Regions from separate parts of the Homo sapiens genome. Here region 1 is linked to region 2. Evidence: promoter capture Hi-C in 16 types of primary human blood cells and fetal thymus (Javierre and others, 2016). All regions are on one chromosome and are shown on one strand. The core of a region is centred on a gene start or on the middle of the fragment in contact, and the rest is flanking DNA. Distances in the headings are between cores, read along the strand shown.

The links. The method cuts DNA at HindIII sites, captures the fragments that hold promoters and counts their contacts. A CHiCAGO score of 5 or more calls a contact.
Region 1: a fragment that was not itself captured here is called in contact with the fragment with the promoter of DUSP11 in region 2 in 1 of 17 cell types (megakaryocytes); the score reaches 5.8 in megakaryocytes.

What each region holds. Positions count from the first base shown.
Region 1 is chr2:73,686,949-73,691,789 of GRCh38, forward strand. No RefSeq gene overlaps it. Among named protein-coding and RNA genes, the nearest start is that of NAT8, 47 kb to the left of the region's middle. The HindIII fragment of the contact is 2,755 bases long and covers 957-3,711 here.
Region 2 is chr2:73,778,642-73,783,138 of GRCh38, forward strand. DUSP11 (dual specificity phosphatase 11) reads right to left here and starts at 1,462. Exons shown (of 9, transcript NM_003584.3): 1 at 1,233-1,462. The coding sequence starts at 1,333. RefSeq lists enhancers at 954-1,103, 1,234-1,283, 1,364-1,433. The HindIII fragment of the contact is 6,659 bases long and covers 1,130-4,497 here.

The DNA.
Region 1 (4,841 bases), core at 1,084-3,583, 91 kb before region 2:
GTAACTCCCTTAGCAGTGAGTGTAGACTTGGTCCAAGGAAGATGAGCACCAGTCAGGGCAGCTGGCCCCTCCTCTCTCCCTGGTCTTCAGCAAATCAGCACTGCCCATCGATGCCCAGGCAATGGGAGCGTCGACCAGCAGAGGACACACCTGAATTTCTCTGCCTCATGGGAGGGCGGCCACTGTGTTGCATTTAGGAAGAAGCTGTGCAAGATTCATACTGTTTTGCTAATGTTAATCTTGTGGGCATAATAAACGTCGTACCCACACTTAACTTTCGAGATCAGACAAGATTGGGTGTGTTCAGGGTGGTATGGCCGTAGACCCCACACTTATTTTTAACACACTTCTAGGCAAGGCTGCTGCACTGGTCTGGGGATCACACTTTGAGTAGCAAAGGACTAAATTGCAATAACTGCCGGGGGGGGAGAAAAAAAAACAGGATGAACTGCTTCCTCCTGGCTCAGCAGCTAGGGAGTCACTGAACTAACAAGGGGATGGGGTGGGGATAAGAATGTTCCAGGCAAAAGGAACAACATGCCCAAAGGCCTCAAGCAGAAAGAGAGCTTCAGGTATTGAAGAAGTAGAAGTAGCTCTGTGTGGCTGGGGAGTGGGCATAAGATGGAGCAGAAGAATGCCAAGTCCTATTCCTGGGTCTGAATTTCCAGGAGCAGAAGCCCTGTCCCCTCTAGAAGGTGGATATAGTCTGGATATTTGTCTTCTTCAAATCTCATGTTGAAATGTGACCCCCAGTGTTGGAGGTTGGACCTAGTAGGAGGTGTTTAGGTCATAAGAAGTGGATCCCTCCCGAATGGTTTGGTGCCCTCCTCATGACTGAGTTGTTACTCTATTAGTTCGTGTGAGAGCTGGTTGTTTAAAAAAGCCTGGCATCTCTCTGGTTCCCTCTCTTGCCATGTGACACAACTGCTCCCCCTTCACCCTTCCCCATGAGTAAAAGCTTCCTGAGGCCCTCACCAGAGGCATATGCCAGCCCTGTGATTCTTGTACAGCCTGAAAAACTGTGAGTCAAATAAACATCTTTTCATTATAAATTACCTAGTCTCAGATATTTCTTTATAGCAACGCAAAATAGACTATCACAGAAAGTCGGTACCGAGGAGTAGGGCGTTGCTATAAAGATATCTGAAAATGTGGAAGTGGCTTTGGAACTGGGTATGAGGCAGCGGTTGGAAGAGTCTGGAGGGCCCAGAAGACAGAAAGATGAGAAAAGGTTTGGACCTTCTTAGAGATTTGTAATGTCGTTGTAACCAAAATGTGGACAGAAATATGTACAGTAAAGGCCAGCCTGATGAGGTCTCAGATGGAAATGAGGAAGTTATGGGGAACTGGAGCAAAGGTCACCCTTGTTAAGCCCTAGCAAAGAACTTGGCTGCATTGTATCTATGTCCTAGGGCTTTGTGGAAGGCTGAACTTAAGAGTAATGACTTAGGGTATCTGGTAGAAGAAATGTCTAAGCAGCAAAGCATTCAAGAAATGGCCTGGCTGCTTCTAATAGCCTATGATCAGATATTGGAGCAAAGGACTGACTTAAATTTGGAACTATTAAATCAAACTAAAATCTGGCCTGAGAAAGCCTCCTCACTCCCATACTTGAGTCCTTAAGGATGAACCATAACCTAACTTTGTAGGTAGGCCAACTGAAAACCTAACTTAGAAGGATGCTTCTGTAGCAATAGCTGAGCGTCAGCCAATCGCAGCAGCCATGCTTCAGTGACTCACAGGCAGCCTATTGTTCAAACCATGTTCAAATAAGGCAAACACCATGCTGTAACCAATTTGGCTATTTCTGTACCTCACTTCGGCTTTCTGCGTGTCACTTTACTTTTTCTATTCATAAGGTTTTTTCCGACCACATAGCATCTCTGGTGTTGCTCTGAATCTGCTGTGATTCTAGGGACTGCCTGATTTGTGAATTGTCTTTTTTTTTTTCTTCAAAATTAAATTCTGTTAAATTTAGTTTGTCTAAGGTTTTTCTTTTACCAGATCTGGTGTTGGAAGTGCAATTTGAAGTAAAACTCTGGTGACCTCCAGGAACACCAGGTGACCAGGCCAGTTGTGCTCACTGATCTCTTGATTGTAACTGGAGGTTGTAGATGCGTTTTCTCTTGGATTCAGAGCTCCACTAATGTGTATTCTAATTGAAGCTCTCCAACTTTACTGGAGCGATATTAAAGTGGACTGGGTTCAGGATCAAATTTGAATCAATAATTAACTGGATTAGGTTCCGTTAGAGCCTCAGACCTATACTAGGCACTTTTTTTTTTTTTTTTTTTTTGATAATGGGTTTGTCTCAATCCAAAGATTCTGGGACTCTACCTTCTGGGACTCCATCTAATTTGATATGTAAAATTATGGACCCAGAATATGTGCATTTTTAGAAAAATAGATTAACCTTACTAGAGAAAAGATGGCCACAATGGGGAAGTTTTAATTTGTATAAAATTGTTTATTTGCATGGCATATTAGAAAAAGGGGGTCAAAACCCCACAAAAACAGTGGGATATAGTCTTTCATTGGTACATGGAAGCCTCTAAAAGACAAAATGAATGAAAACTTGCCTCCTTAAAAGATTCTTCGCAAAAGCAAGTGAACAGCTTAAGTAACAGGCTAAGGACATGATGAAAGAGAACTGTACTCTGACTGAACTAACCCCAACTGATTCTTCTCTTTATGCATCTCTACCTACGTACTCTGAGTCTACTAACCTTTTTACTAAATTGACCTTTCACTCTCAAGATGATGAAAAAAGAGGAATTAGATGTACGCCTCACAAAGGAAGACCTTCTGATTATCCAGGCCTGCCTGCTATAACCACTTTCACTCCATGGTCTAAAACTGAGCTTAGAGCTATTGTAGAAGACTTCCCTGATCTAGGAGAGAATCCTCAAAAATTGACTGAGGAGTGTAGAATCCTCATAGGAGATTATGATCCAGGACTCCCTGACAAAGGTTCATATAAATTTATTCATATGATATGGAGGCCTGGTGAAGCTCAAAAATGGATGGCAGCAGCAGAATGGAACAAACCGGAGGAAGATATTAAAGACTCTGCCCCTACTGCCCGCCCCCACAAAACTTCCTCATGAGAAGGCCCAACAGGAGCTAGAAATATTGCTGCAAATCCCAGCCTGGGCAACATGGCAAAACCCTGTCTATACGAAAAATACAGAAAGTTAGCTGGGCATGATGGCACACGCCTGTAGACCCAGCTACTTATGAGGCTGAAGTGGGAGGATCACCTGAGCCTGGGAGCTTGAGGCTACTGTGAGCCATGACTGTGCCACTGCACTCTAGCCTGGGTAGCAGAGCGAGACCCCATCTCAAAAGAAAAGAAGGAAAAAAAAATTGCTGAAAATCTTTTAAATTCAAGTGCTAAAATTTTTCCGCAAAAGTTGATTGGTACATCATACAATATTGTAAACCAAAAAAAGAATGAACCAGTGTCAGATTACAGAACTTGCTTAGAAATAATGTGAAACATTCTGGGCTCAGAGTACCAGCAAGGAGTATTTCCTGCAGGGACTGAAATGGTATTAACTACTCTATTTATAAAGGGACTTCATCCTGAACTTAGAAATTTAATTAGAAAACATAAACTCGGATGGGAAGTTACAGCCATGACTGAATTGGTGGCTCTAGCTGAACATTTTGAGAGGACTGTAGAGCAAGAAAAAACCCAAAAGGCTAACAAGCTTATGACTGTTCAATTACAACAGTTACAGGGGCCAAGACCAAAGGGATCTTCTCATTCTCATTTTAAATCACAACCAAGAGGTATTAGACCAAGAAATTCTTCACCCTAAGATGTCTGCCTTATTGCAAACAACCAGGACAGTGGAATAGGGATTGTGCCCTTTTATACCAGCCCACCAATGACCCTCCCTTTAGGCCAGCCTGTTTCACCACTAGAGGGAGCACAAGAGACCTTAGCTCTCCTGAAGATAATCAGCATTGAAGCGGCTCTGAGGGATTTCCCAGTATATTGCTCCTCATAACACCCTTAAAAGAATATGGAGAAACAGAGGTTACAATAAATGGGGACTCATGTATAGTCTTGGTGGATACCAGAGCTACCTTATCTGCCACTACCGTAAAACACACTTTCATACGCCAACAGATCCCTCAGAGTTAAAAAGGCTATTTCTGTGGTTGGGGTTTCAAATCAAATTCAAGAGGTTCCCATATCTGAACCCGTCCAATTGACTTTGGGGCACTCTTCAGAAAATCACACTTTTTTACTGTATGATAGTGCTCCAGTAAATTTGCTAGAGGGAGATTTACTTTCAAAGCTGAAAGGGCATAGAAGACTACCTATTGGGTACATTGTACACTGCTTGGGAAATGGGCACACTAAAATCTCAGAACTCACCAGTAAAGAACTTGTCCATGTAACCAAAAACCACCTGTACTCCCAAAACAATTGAAATTGTTTAAATTAAAAAATTTTTAAAAGTGGGGAGGATGTAAAATTTTCCTTAGAAGGAGTAAGAATCAGTTTCCTGATTCTCCTGAACCAGAATTGTTATGCTCTCTATAGGCAGAAATTAATAAGATTGAAACTCAGGCCTGTAATGCCTGATCTTCCAAAAATACATGAATGTTTATGGGTCTCTTCCTCAACTGACACAGGAAGAATTTAAAGTGTGGAACTTATAAAAGTCCAAATAGACCACTCTAAACTTTTGCCTAAATTACCCAATATCCACTAAAACTAGAAGCAATTCAAGGGCTCTCGCCAATTATAGAAGATTTAATTAAACAGGGACTTATAATTCTATGCACCAGCCGTTGTAACACTCCAATCCTACTGGTTAAAAAAA
Region 2 (4,497 bases), core at 212-2,711:
CTTCTGTATCCCTGTTAAACTTGGCCCAGTACCAGATACTAAAGTGCCATTAATACAAACATATTCACTGAAATAATTTAAATTCAATTATTTCACTTCACGCTTTTAGTTTTCATACGACTGATGCCATAAAGTTCAATTAGTAGGAAACTTCAAGTTCATATTTTAAGAGAAAACCTGCTAGAAGAGGGACTGTGAACTTCACTTAATAATGCTAGGAACTGGCCGGGCGCGGTGGCTCACGTCTGTTAATCCCGGCAATTTGGGAGGCTGAGGCAGGTGGATCACCTGAGGTCAGGAGTTCGAGACCAGCCTGACCCACATGGTGAAACCCCATCTCTACTAAAAATACAAAAAAAATTAGCCGGGTGTGGTGGCGGGCGCCTGTAATCCCAGCAACTTGGGCGGCTGAGGGAGGAGAATCGCTTGAATCCGGGAGGCGGAGGTTGCAGTGAGCCGAGATTGGACCATTGCACTCCAGCCTGGCGGAGAAGAGCAAAAATCCATCCCAAAAACAAAAACAAAAAAACGGATTGGAAGAAAACAAACAGGAGATTCACTAATTAGAACCCCACTGCAATAAGTCAGGCAAGACCTGTATTAGGGTACTGACAGAAAGTGACAGTCAAAAGATAGTAGATAAAATGAAGAGGATTTATTGAGGTATGAGATGGTGGAGGATGGTCTCAAGGAGTAAAAACAGTTCAATGCACCTACGTGCAAAGTCTCAAAATTAATCATTTGTACGTATAAAGGAGTTATCTTTCAAATGAGGCCTGTTAGGAAGTAACAAAGTATGCTCTTTGTGATTTCTGGAAACAATACAAACCAACTTTCCATGTGAGATCTCAGGGCGCTACTACTGCTGGGTTCCTAACTCAAACCATTACACTTTCCGTGCCAACGTAACAAGGAATTGAGGAGGTTCCATTTTGGGAATTAAGGAGTGTCCCCAACAGTAACAGTCCCACCTTAAAGCAATCCTTCCGTATTTTACCTAAGAGCAATGGCCAGAACCTCCCTTTTACAAGAATATGGAGAAATCACAGGACATCACAGACATCGCCCCTTTCAGCTACAGCGGGTGGCGCAGAGGGTCAAAGCCTCAAAGCAAGCGGCGGACAAGTCAAGCTTGCGATGGCAACGGCGAGAGGCAGAGACCACAAACGATGAAGCCCAGACCCAGAAGCCACGAGCTGGAAAGGCCACGCCAAGGGACCAAGACATACTACCTTTCGGGGATGTGGTTTCCGCCCTTCTTCTTGGCTGAGGAGCGTCCTGAAAAGTCGCGTCTCCGGCCCCAGCCACTGCGGGGATGATGCCACTGGCTCATGTGGGTCCCAAGAAGCCGCCCACCCAATGCCAAGTCGGCCAAAAGCGCCAGTCCGGCGCCCTCAATGCCAGGATAAGACCCTAAACAGGAAAAGACTCGGCAGCCACCTACGCCGCGCTCCAGCGTCTCGCTATTGCGCATGTGCCACCGCCGGTCGTGATGGCGTAGCCACGCTGGCTTACTGAGACTCCTGATCTGTAAACAGGACTTTGGTGGCTACAGCGCCCTCTTTAGCCAGAGGCCAGTAGCACAGGTCAATAAGGGCGTGTATGCACCCTTCAGAATTCAAACAGTGAGGCACAGGGAAGTCCCTCTGCCCGATCCGCCCCACGCCCCGGTTCCTTGTGTGTTCTTCTAGATATTTACCAGCGCTTACATTCACATTTTGCATATTTTGTATACATATTTACTTTCACATATATGTATATCCTCTATTTTTATACAAAAGGAGTAACTGTACATATTCTACAGTATACCTTAAACACTGATTATCCCAGTCAATTTATGCATACATAGATTCTATTTTTAATGGCTATAGGCAATTTACTTGCTTATGAGTAACATAATTAAAAGTACCATAACGTATTTAGCCAGTTCAATATTAATGGACCTTTAGTTGTTTTCAGGTTCTTTTCAAATCTTGTTACAGACAATGCTGCAATGTGAACATCCTTATACATATATACAACTATATCTAAATTCCTAGAAGTAGAATGTCTGGAATGAAACACATACAAACTTAAAATTTGGAAAGATACTACCTAATTACCCTCCAAAAATAATGTAGAAACATACACTCCCATCAAAGCCAAACTTTTATTGGGTTCCTATCACATACCAGGTATCATGCTAGAGGTGGACAGAATGTATTTAAGTTTTAGCAAATACAAAAAATAACTGAGAGTGGAGCTCAAGTCCAAGGTTTCCACACAGTCTCAAGCATAAAGATCTGTACCCGTTAGAAAAACGTTCAATTCTGCTAAAAGTGGAACTACAAAGGACAGCATACCCTATAGCAGCTTTGAAAATAGAATAGAGTACTAAATTCCAGATTAAACTGTAAGTAATTATGATTGCAGACTTTTTTTTTTTTTTTTTGAGACCCAGTCTCACTCTGCCACCAGGCTGGAGTGCAGTGGTGCCATCTCAGCTCACTGCAACCTCCGCCTCCCGGGTTCAAGCAATTCTCCCTGCCTCAACCTCCTGAGTAGCTGGGACTACAGGTGCATGCCACGACTCCCAGCCAATTTTTTGTATTTTAGTAGAGACAGGGTTTCTCCATGTTGGCCAGGATGGTCTCGATGTCTTGACCTCATGATCAGCACTCCTCGACCTCCGAAAGTGCTGGGATTACAGGCTTGAGCCACCGCACCTGGCCAATGGCAGATTTTTGAAAGTAATTTTTACTTCTTAGTTTCTAATTTATGAAAGTAACTTACATATATTTTTAGTAATCTTTGCAACCATTTCAGAGCTGGGTAAACCAAGGATAAGAAAGGTCAGAGCTATTGAATAAATGAATATTAATAAAGCTAGACTGCTAGCTTTATTAACATTTTTGAGACAGTACTTTTCCAACCAGTTTTAAATACATAAACATTTACAATTCTGAAAATTTCCACATCATTAAAAATGTGTCAATATTCATAAATTGTTCATTGGAAAAAGAAAAAGACAGGATAGCAGAACATAACAAACCTACAATTAGGAACATTTAATTATTTGTTGTTGTTGTTGTTGAGATGGAGTCTCTCTCTGTCACCCAGGCTAGAGTGCAGTGGCGCGATCTCAGCTCACTGCAACCTCTGCCTCCTGGGTTCAAGCAATTCTCCTGCCTCAGCCTCTTGAGTAGCTGCGACTACAGGCGTGTGCCACCATGCCCGGCTAATTTTTGTATTTTTAGTAAAGACAAGGTTTCACCAAGTTGGCCAGGCTGGTCTTGAACTCCTGACCTCAAGTCATCTGCTCTCTTCGGCCTCCCAAAGTGCTGGGATGACAGGCGTGAGCCCCTGCGCCCAGCCCACATTCAAATTTGACATTAAATTGTAAAATATTGTGGCCGGGCATGGTGGCTCATGCCTGTAATTCCAGCACTTTGGGAGGCCGAGGCGGGCAGGTCACTTGAGGTCAGGAGTTAGAGATCAACCTGGCCAACATGGTAAAATCCTATCTCTACTAAAAATACAGAAATTAGCTGGGCGTGGTGGCTCATACCTGTAGTCCAGGGTACTTGGGAGGCTGAGGCAGGAGAATGGCTTGAACATGGGAGGCGGAGGTTGCAGTGAGCCAAGATTGTGCCATTGCACTCCAGCCTGGGCAACAGAGCGAGACTCTGTATCACGAAATAAATAAATAAATAATACAATGTTTTTCTGAAATGCATGAAAAATTCCAATAGGTGTATAGTAGCCCAAAACTACAAATGTTACAAATGTCTATAGACATGACAAGATACAAAACGTGACATAAATCTTTCAGAAGCTAGAAAAGCTGTATTGGGCTTACACTTTCAATTTGCTAAAAGACACAACATTGGGGTGAGAACAAACTCAGTTATAGTTGACACAAGAAAATCCAGACCTAGGCGGAATAGGGTTCCTAGAAAGTAACCAGACATACTAATGAATAACATAAATGAGGTAATATGACATAAAACATAATGGAAAAAGAATATTATGATTATTTTCTTCAGTGTACAGAAGTAATGGAAGTTCTGGACTAGCTACATAAAAAATATTAAATTCTATGTTCTATTAATACAAAATAAGTGTGTCGAATTGTTTGTCACATAAACCAAAAAATCCACACAAATCTCTTTTTCCCTGTACCCTCAACTTGCCTGTTTCCTATTCTCCACTAAATGCTTAAATTCTTCATTTTGCCTAGCCCTTGCACCCAAGCATGGCTGACAGGATATCCCAAAGGCCCAAGATTCTATAGTGGCTGTTTGCAAGAGAGAGGAGGCTAAAAGTAACTGCCATACTGGATCCCCTTATGTGAGAAGAAAGAAAGTATCCTGAATGCTTCTCACGTATAAAAGAGCAGGATGGCAGGGTGTCTGTGTGGCCCAAGGAGCCAGAGGTAGCAAACCATGGGCAAAAGAAATGTGACCAAAGGCTAGAAGAGGGAAGGTCTGCAGTCAGCCTTGTCTTCTACCTCTCTGG